2 separate regions of the Homo sapiens genome follow, and region 1 is linked to region 2. Evidence: promoter capture Hi-C in human tissues and cell types (Jung and others, 2019). All regions are on one chromosome and are shown on one strand. The core of a region is centred on a gene start or on the middle of the fragment in contact, and the rest is flanking DNA. Distances in the headings are between cores, read along the strand shown.

The links. Contacts are between HindIII fragments. The study calls those that stand out against the background at their distance.
Region 1: a contact is called between a fragment that was not itself captured here and the fragment with the promoter of TMEM17 in region 2, in 1 of the 25 tissues and cell types used here (mesenchymal stem cells).

The regions. Positions count from the first base shown.
Region 1 is chr2:62,554,618-62,562,087 of GRCh38, reverse strand. It overlaps the pseudogene RSL24D1P2. Among named protein-coding and RNA genes, the nearest start is that of TMEM17, 52 kb to the right of the region's middle. The HindIII fragment of the contact is 3,285 bases long and covers 3,573-6,857 here.
Region 2 is chr2:62,503,464-62,510,661 of GRCh38, reverse strand. TMEM17 (transmembrane protein 17) reads left to right here and starts at 4,467. Exons shown (of 4, transcript NM_198276.3): 1 at 4,467-4,632. The coding sequence starts at 4,533. It also overlaps the pseudogene RPL37P13. RefSeq lists silencers at 4,287-4,556, 4,767-4,936, 5,274-5,568. The HindIII fragment of the contact is 10,369 bases long and covers 1-5,333 here.

The sequences.
Region 1 (7,470 bases), core at 3,966-6,465, 51 kb before region 2:
TGCTTTAAAAAGAGAGCACATTTGTATGTTCTGTTATTTTAAAGTCTAGAACTAAAGTTTTTTCAAAAATTCCCTTTATTTTTTAAAACAATAAAACACCTGTACACATAGAAAAATAAATATATCTGATTTACACTTGTTGATAAAACTCATACAGTCCAGTTAAGGTTTTCATTTTACTTTCACCTATTACATGTAAAAATGGCCAATTTATTTATTTATTTTTTTTTTGAGATGGAGTTTTGCTTTTGTCACCCAGGCTGGAGTGCAGTTGCGCAATCTTGGTTCACTGCAACCTCCATAAAAATGGCCAGTTTTAAACATAGTCTCCAACTTTGTGAGCCCCAGAGGATTCAGTCACAAGGATTTAGCTTCTATGGTGAGCAGGTATGTATTGTGCAGTGGAGACGCAAAAGAGTTTCTTATATCCGGGGTGATATTCAAAATATTTTAAAACCGTTAAATAGTTGGGCACTGACCAACCAGTATGGATGACAGCTGGAAAAGTCGCTGGAGTTTAGACGAATGGCGGATACAGGGGGAAAGCCAGGGAAGTTGAAGGGGGAGGGATTAGGAAGTGAGAGCACTTGGGAAGCTCCAATAGGGGTACATTTAATAAGTGGCACAGGGCTCTCAAGCTTGACGTTTGTTTGGTGGGTTCAACATGTGTATCGAGAAGTGTTATTTCTGTTCGGGGTCCATCTACCCTGGCCACAGCATGATGTTTGTCCAGAACAATTGCAAGGTGTTCAGATTTTGTAACTCTAAATATCATAAAAACTTTAAAAAGAAGCGCAATCCTCGCAAAGTTGGGTGGACCAAAGCATTCTGGAAAGCAGCTGATAAAGAGCTTACAGTGGATAATTCATTTGAATTTGAAAAACGTAGAAATGAACCTATCAAATACCAGTGAGAGCTATGGAATAAAACTATTGAGGCAATAAAGAGAGTTGAAGAGATCAAACAGAAACGCCAAGCTAAATTTGTAGTGAACAGATTGAAGAAAAATAAAGCGCTACAGAAACTTCAAAGAAGTCAAGCAAAACATCCATCTTATCCTAGCCCCTCTTGCAGGCAAAGGAAAGCAGTTGTAAGAGAAAATGGTACAGCAGTTACAAGAGGATGTGGACATGGAAGATGCTTCTTAAAAAAAATCTCTGTAACCATTTCTTTTATGTACATTTGAAAATGCCCTCTGGAGACTTGGAACTACTAAATTATTACTTTACTTTTTACATAAGGTCACTTAAATGAAAAGTGATTAAAATATATCTTTCCTACATTGTCATCTACGAAACGTCACATATTACGGACATTAGATTGCATCTCAGTGTTAAATCTTCACTGATAGATGTACTTATGTAAATCATGAAAATTCTACTTATAACTATAGAAGTGAATTGTGGACATAAAATGGTTATGCCATTTGGATAATGGCACTAGGCAGCATTTGTATAATAACTAATGGCAAAAATTCATGGCCAGTGATGTATAAAATAAAATATTCTTGGCAGTAAAATATTCCCTTTATTAATGTTATAGAAGTGGGGGATACAACAAGGAAATAACAATTTGTATGACAGTGTCAAATATTATTTTAATTTTAGTATTTCCTGTTTTGGTTTATTTGTATCTTAGAAGAGCATAATGACATTGTTGGATGAAGCCTAATTATGCTGGACTGTTTTGACCTGGTTTAACCCTTCTGATAGGTAGCTGTGGATGTTGGGGATGAGAACTGAATAATCTTTGCCTGGAGTGACACTACACTCTAGAATTTCCACTTTGGAGAATACTCAGTTCTAACTTGTGATTCCTGATAGAACAAACTTTATTTTTCTAGCCTAGCAATGATCTAGAAGTGGAGGAATCCCAGCACCTTTTAAAAGTTATTATGTGGTTTTCTTTTAAAAAGCTCCTGTTTTTGGAAAGTAGAATTTATGGGTACAACATCTGTTCACTATTTGCACATAAAGCCATTTAAAAGGTTTAAAAAAAAGTGGCACAGGAGTTTTCACTATTTAAGCAGCTGGTTAGAGCTCTTCTGGGGCATATCTGTCCACTGTATCTCCTGTGTTCCATCAGAATGCACACCTGACTTTCCAAATGTGGCCTTAAAATCTTAGAAGTTCAGAGATTATCTACTCTATTCCTGACATTTTACAGATGAAGAAACCAAGGTTGAGGAAAGGTGAGTGGTTTGCTCAAGATGCATGAATAATGAGAGTCGGAATGAGTTCCCACATCTCCAAATCTCAATCCAGGTCAGTTGAGATGGGCAAAACATCCTCATACCAAATTAACTTGCCCACTCATCATTTTTGTGCCACTCCCAAATCAGAGCTGCAATTTACTTTCTACTTGTGTAAATAGAAAAAGTGTATATATTCTTCATGAGAGCAAAAGACCTTGGATATGGAAAACAAAAGGGCAGTGGGTCCAGACTTCAGGGTAATTATTTGTAACTTATGTTAATGGAAAGCATGAGGGTGCACACGTAGCACATCTCAACAGAATCCATGCATCGTTGGAAAAGCAAATTTGAAGATAATAAATCAAAGGCATTTAAAGTAAAATATGCTGGCATGCAATCTCATTTTGTAGCTTTTTTCTTCCTAGTTATCAAAAAGATCATGAAAGAAACAAAAAAAGATAGAAGAAAAGGATTCTGTTCACCTTATAGCTTATTTAGAAAACTGCCAATAAAATGATGCAGGGGGACTTTTTGGGTGCTTCAGGTTTGGTGTGTATAGAGGGAAAAATGAGAATATTCATTCATTCATATTTTCATAATAACTACTGATATTTGAATGGCCATTTACAGTTTTAAGTGTTTTCCTAAACACTTGGTAGAAGAATATTGGCATGGGAAATATTTTGCAGTATATTATTGCTAAGTAGAAATGCAGGCTACAAAAATAGTATGCACATTCAAGATGTTATTTTTGTTTAAAAAGAAGTGTATTTGTGTGTGTATGTGTGTGTGCGTGCACACACCCATACATATAAAATAATTGAGAAGACATATTGAAATACTATCTGTTCTCCTTGATTGGTAAGATTATGGTTTCTTCTTTAGCATTTTTCTGCTTTGTAAGTTGCTTGCATTGAACATATATTACTTTCATCATTAGAAAAAAATGGAAAAGTGCTTTCATCTGCATTTTTCTTCACTGGAACTTTTAACAACCATGTGAGGTACAACACCTCTCTTTATAGAAGATGATATTGAGGTTCAGAAGAACTGAGTGACCTACTATTTGGCAAGTAGCAAGTATTAGAGCTTGGGTTTTCATCTAGGCCATCTAATTCTAAATCTTACACTTTTTCCTCTACATTATGATACTCAATTCTCAGAGCTGGTTTATGTGGCAGCTCACTGTAGCATGTTCAGGGCTATCTTCATGTTGTCCTTGCAATAGAGCATCATCCATTCATTTGTACCTGTTGATCATTTTGTAGAAACCAATTTTCCAGTTAAAATGGTTGCTGTTCTGGATGTTTCACCAATGACTTGAAGCAGTTAAGCTTCCACAACAAATTCCCTTAGCTTTATTCATTTGAATAGCTATTATTTCAAAGTAGTGTACTATGTAACACTCTCAAACCTTAAAAGCTTCCTGGATGCTCTCTTGGACTCTGTCATCTTTCTCCATATCCAATTTCTACTCCTATCAGTTTTTCAAGGTATGTGTTTTTCTGTGACCTTTTTCTTTTCTTTCTTTTTTTTTAATGTGACCTTTTTCTTAAAAGCTACTTCTTGCTTGCTAATAGGCCCTGTTCCACTGTGAAAAAGCAAAGAGAATCACGAGGGAAGTAGAGCAATGGAGCTAAATGTGACCACAAGCTCTGCTGGAAGCTCTGAAAATCTAATCCATTATCCCATTACTTCACAGATGAGCTCAGAAAGCTGCTGCTGTTGATTGTCTGGCCATGGAAAGAGTTCTCAGTCAAATGAAAGTCTCTGCCTTGGGATTTATTAAACACTTTTATTCTTTGACTTTTCACACAAATTTTGCAGCATCAGGTAAATATTCTCAATATCAACAATGTTTACAATAGAAAGATTAAGAGTTGAGGGCCTTATAACCATTTTGTGAGGTACATAGAGAAGTTCTGAGTGTGTTAGGCCATTCTTGCGTTGCTATAAAGAAATATCTGAGAGTGGACAATTTATAAAGAAAAGAGGTTTAATTGCTCACAGTTCTACAGGCTGTACAGGAAGCATGGTGCTGGCATCTACTCGACTTCTAGAGAGACCACAGGAAGCTTACAATCATGGTGGAAGGTGAAGGGGGAGCAGGCATGTCACATGGCCAGAGCAAGAGCAAAAGAAAGAGTAGGGGAGTGCCGCACACTTTTAAATGACCAGATATCTTGCGAACCCATTCACTATCATGAAGACAGAACCAAGCCATGAGGAATCCACCCCCATGACCAAATACCTCCCACCAGGCCCCACCTCCAGCACTGGGAATTAGAATTCAACATGAGAGTTGGGCAGGGACAAATATCCAAACTACATCACTGAGTTAAGGCCAGTCTTTTGGACTTTGTGTACCTTTGGCTGGTAAAACTCTACCTTTATCCTTCAGAGCTGAGTCGTATTGTCCTGGGCCCCAAGACAATGGTTTCTAGGTGTTGGTTCTTTCTTTCTGCTTTTTAAAAATAATGCATGTCTTCAGCCAGAGGAGAGGTTGCTGATTTTTAAGTAATGGGACCCAGATGTTCCTGGGCCTCATAGGCAGCCCTGTCCTGGGGTCACAAACACCTTGAAGTGGGACTTAACACTTCAATTTGTTCTTGTACTTCTCAACAAGAACAAACTCAATTTCCTTCAACATAGTGATAAGAAATATAGATATTATTGTAGGTTTTATGGAGAAAGGCATGAAAGGATTATATGGAGCACCACATAGCAAATTTTAATAAAAATTCCTGTTTAACATCTGGGGTCTCCTCAGAAAGTTCCCCTTAGCCACTTTCCCACCCTTCAATCTTGCCACACATAGGCTCCACATTTTCCCTGGTTCTTCTGGATCTCATTCATTTTCCATTCACCCTGACTCACCCCTGCCTACCTCCTACAATAAATGAATAAACAGGATTTTTCTAATGCAGAACAATTTGGTGAACTCTCTTAACCCTGCATCCTCATACCCATCACTCTGTTCAGCAAAGAACCTCCTTTGGAGGCAGCTGGGTATTGTAAATTGCAGGTAATTTTTCTCTGTCACAAACAATTTTTTCCCTTGTCACTGTAGTGTTGGTGTAGCATGCCAAATTTTCAAACTGTAGGTCCAAATTCCAAGGAGCTTTTCTTCAAGGGTAGATTATCAAAAGTTTGCATCTTTCTTTAGCAGAGCTGTTTCATAGAGACGTAGAGAGAGAGAGAGCCTGAGATGGGAGAAAACTAAGGAATTTAAGGCAAAGAAAAGAGAAACTGAAATTTATTAGGCACTGTGCTAATGAATTTCCTTACATACATTATTTCATGGCATTTTTACAACCATATTTTACAGAGATGGAAACTGAGGGCTTAGAGAAGTTAAAATAAATTTGCAAAGTCTCATTGCCAGTAAGAGGTGCAGCTGGGATTCTAAAGCCAAGTCCATCGGCTCCAAAGTGTGAGGTCTTTCCTTATGTGCCATCACCTTCCACAGGCTTGGGATTTCCAATATTTAGAGAACTACCTCCTCTACCATCCCATCAAACTTCTTGGCAGCTCAGCTTTGCATCTGTCCACAGAAAGCCATTTCTCTTCTTACACGAACCTGGCCCAGGGACAGCTGGATTTAATGGTCTTGCCTGGCTCAGTCTTTCCCTGTTCCATTGCCAGTCCTATCCCAGCAGCCACAAAGATTCCTAACGTCTCATGGGAAGGTCAAGGTATTGGCACTAGTGGGACTGGGATAGTAGATGAGCTTGACTGCTGCAGTGGAAAGGACCTTGGAGCAAGATTGAGGGTAGGCAGAATTTCATAACAACCATAGGATAAATCAGTGTGTATGCCTCCTTGATCTCTTTGGAAACAAATTTTTGCACATAGTGCAGTGAAACAGGGAAGACAAGAATTCATATTTAGAGACTGGTTCTCACAATGTTTCTCAAACATACAAAAGTACCTTTTTTTCTTAATTTTATGTATTAATGGTTTAGCAACTTGACATGAACAGAGTTAGTCTTGTAATATAAAATAAGACAGAACATATTTTAGTTTCCTCTGTCATCCCCAAGATGCATTATTTTTATACACACAGGGCAGGCTGCATGTGGATTTACTTCAGCTGCCCACTTGGTGCCTGAAGTATCATTGTTCAACTTACTTAATTTCTTTCTACTCTAGTTTCTTTGACTAAAAAGGAAGAGGGTAGACTGGATAATTCCCGGGTTCCCTTCCAGCTATGTAGTTTATAGAGTGTTGGACATCTGCAAAGAGCCATGTACCTTGTGAAAAACACTATCCCATCATACTGGGTAGAATCTCAAACTGAACATATTTAGCAGCAATCATAACTCAATAGATGTTTGTAGAATAAATGAATTTTTAAATGTGTTACTGCTTTGAATTAACAGCAATATCAATATCCCATGCCTACTTTATTTGTATGCAATGTAAGCTAACTACTGAATTTTTTTAGAAGTATTCTAGTTCTGTTCTCTTTTTAAACTTACCTTTAAGCAGTGGAACACTTTTTTCAAATGAAATTCAGATTAGAGATCAACTTATATAAAATGGACAAAAATAGAGTATCTCATATTGAAACTGGAGTGGGGAGCCCCTTCCACTCACCCCTGTTGATCCTGAGAGACTTCCAAGGAACTCATTGGAACACTCAGAGCTTAGTGTGAAAAATCATCAATCCAGCCTATCCCACTACAACCAGGTGGAAATATCCACGTCACTTGAGACTTTTGTTTTTGAAATCTTCTGAGATGAGTCCACTAGTAGGAAGAGGTGCTTACCTAAATAAACAAAAAGTCTAACATGAGACCATCAGGTAACTATGTTTGCCTTCCTGGTGATGTTTTTCTAACATGGATGAGGGAATAAAATACTCTTGCAAAGATTTAGAGCCTCAAGATACTTCAGGCATAGATGAAACACATTTTACCATGAACCTGGACATCTGAGAGGTGGTTCAGAGCAAGTAAAAGCATAAGAGGATTTATCCTGATGCTGTCTTTGGTTGGAGCCTGAAGTCAATTACACATATAAAGTTCTAATCCTCACACAGTTGTGCTTTTCCTTATGCTGCTGATACTCAGCACCAAAGTCTAGGATTTTTTTCATTAGAAAATTTTTCTCATGAATAGTGTTTTCTGCCAAAGGGAACAAACTTGCTCCAAACAGAACAGCATTACAAAAAGCACAAGAAAGACATTTGTCAATAGGAAATCACACAATGAAATGTCTGTTGAGTGGATGACCCACAGTTGGAAGTAGTTGAGAGGAAAGTACAGTCAAGG
Region 2 (7,198 bases), core at 3,218-5,717:
TCCCGTGATTTTAAGTACAGAGATTCCGTACTTCTTTTTTTTTTTCTTGAGACGGAGTCTCACTCTGTCGCCCAGGCTGGAGTACAGTGGCACGATCTCAGCTCACTGCAACCTCTGTCTCCCAGGTTCAAGCAATTCTCCTGCCTCAGCCTCCCGAGTAGCTGGGACTGCAGGGGCCCGCCACCACACCCAGCTAATTTTTGTATTTTTAGTATACACGGGGTTTCACCATATTGGGCAGGTTAGTTTCGGACTCCTGACCTTGTGATCAGCCCGCCTTGGCCTCCCAAAGTGTTGGGATTACAGGTGTGAGCCACCGTGCCTGGCCCATACTTCTTTCTTTAGATCCTAAGTAAGTAGTAGGTCTAGAAGATGGGAAACCCAAATCATACAATTCTTCATTTTTCATGAATGTGGATGCCCACCTGTATAGGCAATCACATTAGTGAAACACTGAAGGATCTCCTTTAGTATTTCTAATGTAATTGCCTATAAATATTGGGAGTATCAACTAATAAGATAACATTTGGAAAGTTTTTTTGAGCCCCTTGGACCATTTATGATACATCAATAATGGCAGGACTCATTCCAAACCACATTTTTTTTCCTCTCAAATTATCTTCTCTAATGTTTTTGCATCATCATTGCCTCTTCCTCTCAATTTATTTTTAACAAGATTTTTTTCTAACTAGAAAATGTACGCTCATATAGGAAATTTGAATAATAAAATTAGAAGGAAAAATACCCATAATTCTATCACTTTTTTTCCTCCAGGATTTTGATAACATAATTACAATCTGAAGAAGGTATCTTGCATCTTTTTTCAATGCCAGGGGAAAATATCTTTAAAATAATTCACTTAGGTTTTTGATAAGAATTCACATAGGTTTTTGGTTAACATAATGGAGTGCTTTAATGCTTAACTGCCTCCACTGTCTTTATTAGGAAAGCAACAGAGGTATTACCTAGCAGGTCCAGTTGAATTTACAAAATTAAATACCAGCATTATTTGACTCCACTCTAGGTGTTGTTTCTTCATAAACTTCATTTTAATTGATGTGTAAATGGTAGCTATCATGTATAGAGAGCCTTAATGATATAATATCACATCAACCACAACAGTAAGATATCATTATTTTTACTTTACAAAACGAGTATCTGAAATCAGTCACACAGCTGTTAAGTGGTACATCGAGAATTTTAGGGTATTTGAACCCTGCCCTCTCAGCTTCCAAGGACATTCTTTCTACTGCAGCCCAACACCTTGCCATAAATATCGTAATCTGCTTAATGAGGCCCTGTGGTTGGGCACTTCAAATGCCCATTCCCCTCTTTTCTAAACAATTATCAATAATGTTGGAGAAGCATTTGGTGTATAAAACTTTGTTTCTATGATTATTTTCCTTTAATAGAGCACGCCTTAAGATTTTATCGTGTTAAAGGAGGCAGGAACGTTTTAAAGGCTATTTCTATACATTGCCGATTACTTGTCTCAATGCGGTTGGCCAAATTATAATTCAACAGCTGAGCCTGAGGCCTCCTGCTTCACTGTTCCGTTTATAAAAAATCTCGGTTCATTTGATAAATGAAAAGTGATTCTCTGTTGCTAAGGTTTTTTAAATTGTTATGATTCACTATGTTTTAATACACCAATTCACCATTTTACAAAGTGAACCTTTTAAAGGGCTAGCTAAGTCCTTGAACTAGAAGGGGAAGACAAGAGAGTGGTCATTAGGCTTTTTCTTCCTTTTACTCACTCAACAGTCATCCAGCTCCTACTCATGGCCAGGTACCACACTGTGCTAGTGTTGGGGATATAAAGATGAAAGTCCATTCTTGACCTCTAAGAGCTTGAGGACTAGCAAGAGACACAGACACATAAACAGACAATTTTAGTATAGAGTGACCAGCACTGTGACCAAAGAAACAAGAGGAAGATGCTTTGGGAAACACAGAAGAGAGCACCTAAGCTATTTCAGGAAGGTCCTAGAAGCCTTTTTGGAGATTCTCAGGTCTGAACTCCATCTTGAAATGAAGCAGAAGTTAACCAGCTTTTCCCTGACATCCTCAACCCGAATTAATTGCTTCTTTAATAATTAAAAGACGTGGTCCTTTAATAGAGCACGTCTAATAACAGTGTTTGCACTTACTTGTTTCCATGTCTCTCTTTCACTGAGCTGTGCTTCTTGATGAGGAGGGACCATATCCCTAATTAGCCTAGCACGATATCCAAATAAGCAGTAGGAATGCAATAAACGTTTGTGTAATTATTTTAAAATTCTAGTCATGAACTTATTTCCACCCATATCTTCTTCTTGCATTTATATAAATGTGTAATTTTCCTTTTGATTGTAAAAATAATACTTTTACCACACACCCATCAGAAGGGCTAAAAGGAAAGGATAAGAAATAACAAGTGTTGGTGAAGTATATGGAGTAATGGAAATATTCACACATTGCTGGAGGCAGCAGAAATTGGTTTGATCACTTTGGAAAACTGTAGGCAGCCTCTACTAAAGCTGGGTCTTTCGTATCCTATGACACGGCAATTCCACTCTCGATATACACTCAACAAAAATGCATGCATATGTTCACCAAGAGGCATCTTTTCCCCAAAGCAGCACTATACACAACAGCTCCAAACTAGAAAATACAGACACTCATCAACAGTAGAATGAGTAAGCTTATTGTGGTATGATCACAAAGAGCAAGGCAAAAGAATCTACACTCAATGACATGAAGGAATTTCATGAAAGTAATGTTGAAGACAAAGCCAGTTTTTTAAAAAAGTACTTACAGTATGATTGCTTTTATATAAATATGCAAAACAGAAGCAAGATGACAAAGGGAGTGTCATCATCTAGAAAGTGGTGCGATAAGATGCACAGCTAGTGCTGCCCTGTGACTCTAACTCCTTCAAAAGTCCGCCTGTGGCAAACGCGGCTACCCTCCCAAGCCAAGATAAAGTATAATTGGAGTGCCGAGGCTAAAAAATATACCAGTGGGACTGGTCGAATGAGGCACTTAAAAATTGTGTACAGCAGGTTAAGGCATGGATTTTTTAAAGGAATGCCACCTAAACCCAAGAGGACAGCTGCTGCAGCATCCAGTTCATCTTAAGAATTTCAGGCCAGGTACGGTGGCTCACACCTGTAATCCCAGCACTTTGGGAGGCCAAGGCGGGTGGATCACTTGAGGTCAGGAGTTCGAGACCAGCCTGGCCAACATGGCGAAACCCTGTCTCTACTAAAAATACAATAATTAGCCGAGTGTGGTGGCGGGCACCTGTAATCCCAGCCACTCGGTAGGCTGAGGCAGGAGAATCACTTGAACCCAGGAGGCGGAGGTTGCAGTGAGCCGAGATTGTGCCATTGCACTCCAGCCTGGGTGACAGAGCAAGATTCTGTCTAAAAAAAAAAAAAAAAAAAAAAATTTTAGATTAGTCACACAATAAATGTTCTGATTTAAAAAAAAAAAGGCAAAACTCTCCTTTGCTGTTAGAATTCAGGAAAGGTCAGTTATGAGTGAGGAGTGGGTTTAGTGACTGAAAGGAAATAGGAAGGGGGAGTTTCTGGGAATATTGTAAAGTTTCTTGAACAGGGTGCTGATTACACATACAGATTTCAGTCTATGTATATATATTACACTTATTTCTTAAGTAATATATATTACTTACAAAAGGTGTACAATTTTTCTGTATGTGTATTACACTTAGTTTTTTTTAAGTAATATATCTTGAGAGAAAGCTAGAAAATAAGACGTTTAAAAATTTTTGAATCACCTACAATCCCACTATCCAGTGAAAACGACTGTTAACATTTTGGACTTTTTTCCAGTTCTTTTTTTCAAGCCAGTGTGCACACGCTCTCTCCTCCCCTCCACTCATACACATAAATTTTGCTAAATTAGGTTCATTCTCATTTAGTTTTATTTCTGCTGTATTTTTACATAAAGTTAAACTATACCATTCAATATCCTTTGCAAGCATTTTATAAGCAGCTGAAACATACTCCATTGAATGTATGTGCTCCAGTACATTTAATCAGTTGCCCATTGCTGTTTTCTTATTAAAAAATAATCAGTCACATGATGTCTCTCTCTCTCACACACACCCCTACACCTCTAGACATTCTTTAAGCTCTGCATTCGTTCTCTATTTCTCTCCAGAAAGGTTGTACCGATTTACAGTTCCACTGGCAAATGTGAGGGCTCCTTGTATCGCAGTCCAACCCCAGCTCATTTCTTAGTATAGGTTTGTTTTTAGGATGGTCGAGCTCAAAGCAGAACTAAGGGATCTGCCGTTTTGTACACGGCCGAGGCGCGCGGCTCCCTGGGCCTGGAACGCGCTCTGAGCGCGCCGGTCCCTTCCAGGTTGCGCGGGCTCCGGACGAGACCCAGCCCAGCCGGGCAGCCCCGCGCGCTCCCGGGTCCCGCCGGCCTCGCGCCGCCCGGTTGCCGTGGGAACCACGGAGCCTCGGAGCGCCCGCAGACTAGCCCGTGTCTGAGGGGGTGAGGGATACTGAGGCCCAGGCATGGAGCTGCCGGATCCGGTGCGCCAGCGGCTGGGAAACTTCAGCCGGGCCGTGTTCAGTGATTCCAATCGGACCGGTCCAGAGTCCAATGAGGGTCCGGGTGAGTGACCGAGGCCCGGTGCAGGGGGTGTGGCCTGCCGAGGGCTTGGCGTGGATTTTGGAGCGTCCAGAATTTGCCCGTACCTAAAATGGCGATGTCGCCTTCAGCCAGTTCTCCGCAGTGCGGGAGAGCGCCTTGGAGGAGGGGCCGGGCCGGACAGGGAGCTGAGGCGCTGGCGGCCTCCCGCCCCCGGCCGGGCCTGGTCTCCGCGTGGTGCTCCCTGGCCAGCTTGTTGCAAGCGCGGCAGCTGACGTGGGGCCGATCTCTGTGCCGCGCAAGGCCCATCATTGTCCCGGAGAAACCCCAAAAATAAAAAGATAAAAGCCGCCCTTGCTGCACAGGCTGGTCCCCCGCGCGCCGCGAGAGCGAAGGCCCAAGTTGTTTTGCCTCTGCGGCGCCCGCCCCGGCTTTTCTGTCCAGGATGACGAGGAATAGCCCAAGCAATCCCACCTCCCCCGTCCCCACCCCCACCCCAGGGAACAAATTTGCCTTTTCCCTTTTCCTAGCAGAACAAGTATGTTCCTAAGCAAGGCCATTTTCTCGTAGAAGACATTAAAAAAAAAAGTTAATGAGTCCTTTCAAACCACCATCCACTCCCACTGGCATGTGCCATACTAGCCGGGCGTTCAACAAAACTCACCCCTTCCCTGCCTTCTCCTCCTCCCCTATATGTAACTCTTATCATAAGGTAACAAAATACCATGATGCTTCTGCGTCCTTTAACTTGATGTCAAGTGATAACACAGTTTCCTCCAGAACAGTTTCCTCCTCCTACATCATGATGGTAGACAACACACTGTCAACCAAACCCATGTGGTTTTCATCATTCAACTCTGCTGGGAAATATCAATCTTTTCCTCTGCTTGGTTTTAGAGAATTTTTAAAAGGGACAGAGAAAAGTAAAGGCAGTTCCCAAAGCTGCATTTTGTCACCTTGATCACTTGCCTATTTCCCAAATGTAGGCCTTTATGATTTAGGATGTACAGAGAAAAATGTGAAAAAAATAGGTTTTCACGTTTCTGGTTCCAAGGATGAGGCTTAATGAGCACTAACGTCTGATAATACAAGGTAAAAAGACGTTTTCTGAAAAGGACCAGATAGTAAATATTTTAGACTTTGTAGGCCATATGGTCTCCACGGCAGCCATTGACAATAGTTATTGAATAGGCAGGGCTGTGTTCCAATAAAACTTTATGGACACTGAAATTTGTATTTCATATGGATTTCACGTGTGGAAAAAATATTACTTTTTTAACCATTTAAACGTGAAAAAACATTTTTAGCTCATTGACTGTACAAAAACAGGCAGCTGGCCAGTTGTTTACCTATCCCTGATTTATATTGTATGTTTTAATTTAAATTCCATTTACAGAACTCAACTTGAACTTTTGCAAAATTTAGTAAGTTTATGTCTTACGCTTTTAAGGTTCATTTACATATTAATTTGATTTTCATTTCCATGATTATAAGTTTGATCTGCTGAAATATGGACATAGCATAACCTTTAAGATGTTAACACACAATACTTCTAACATGAAAACCATTCTTTGCAAAATTTGACTACAGTTTCTTCTCAAAGGTACTGAAATGTTCAGCTTGCCCAATTTATTATTCTTTCCCAAATTTTCTTCTTTGTGGATTGGAAGTAGGTTTGATTATTTGTACTGTAATAACAAGTTTATGTCATTACCATGTCCGCAGCTTTGTACTGTTGCTATCGAAAAGATCCTAGGCTGGTGAGTTGTCTTCAGATTTAACAGATTTTAAGAATTCATTCCTTTATCAGTGGTAATTTAATAAACAGTTGCAAGCAAAAGTAGATCATAATAATCAGGCATATTCTTGGAGCTAAAAGAAACTATTTTGCTGTGAGAGACCATGACTATTTCTTATATTTTAAAATAATTAAGTGACAGATAAAAACACTCAGCTATGGAGAAAAGGAGAAAATAATGTTTTTAAGACATTTATTTTAGAGCCTTTAAAATCTTACGTGTACAGCAACTGATTTCAATATATGTGTCTGCTCTTAAGAATTTAGTCAAATTTAGGATGTATTTTGTAGGGCTCAATTTTAAAAATCAAATTCTTAATCTAGGACCCTGCTCTCTTACATAAAAGCAGAAAGTGTTATGGAATCAACCTTAGGTAAATGGAACTCATGTATCACAAATGGCTATGCTAGTAATGTCCTTATGACAGTATACTTTCATTAATTCATTCTTATGTGTATTTGATATTCACTGCGTGGAAAGCAAGATGCTAGATTCTATGAGGGTCTCAAATTAGGGTAGGACATGGTGTGTGCTTGCAATGAGCCTGTAGATAAGTAGAAGAGAAGAAGGAAAGAGGACTAATATTTGTTGAGTGCCTACTAAGTGTGCCAGGCACAGTGCTAGGATGAAATAATTTATATTGGCTCTAATTCTCACAAACAGCCTGTGAGGAAGTTTTAATTTCACTATTTTACAGATGAAGAAATAGAAGCTCAAAGAGTTTAAATAATTCATGTCAAGTCTGACATCCAGGGTCACAGAGGTTTGGGGAGCTCGGATTTGCTTGAACT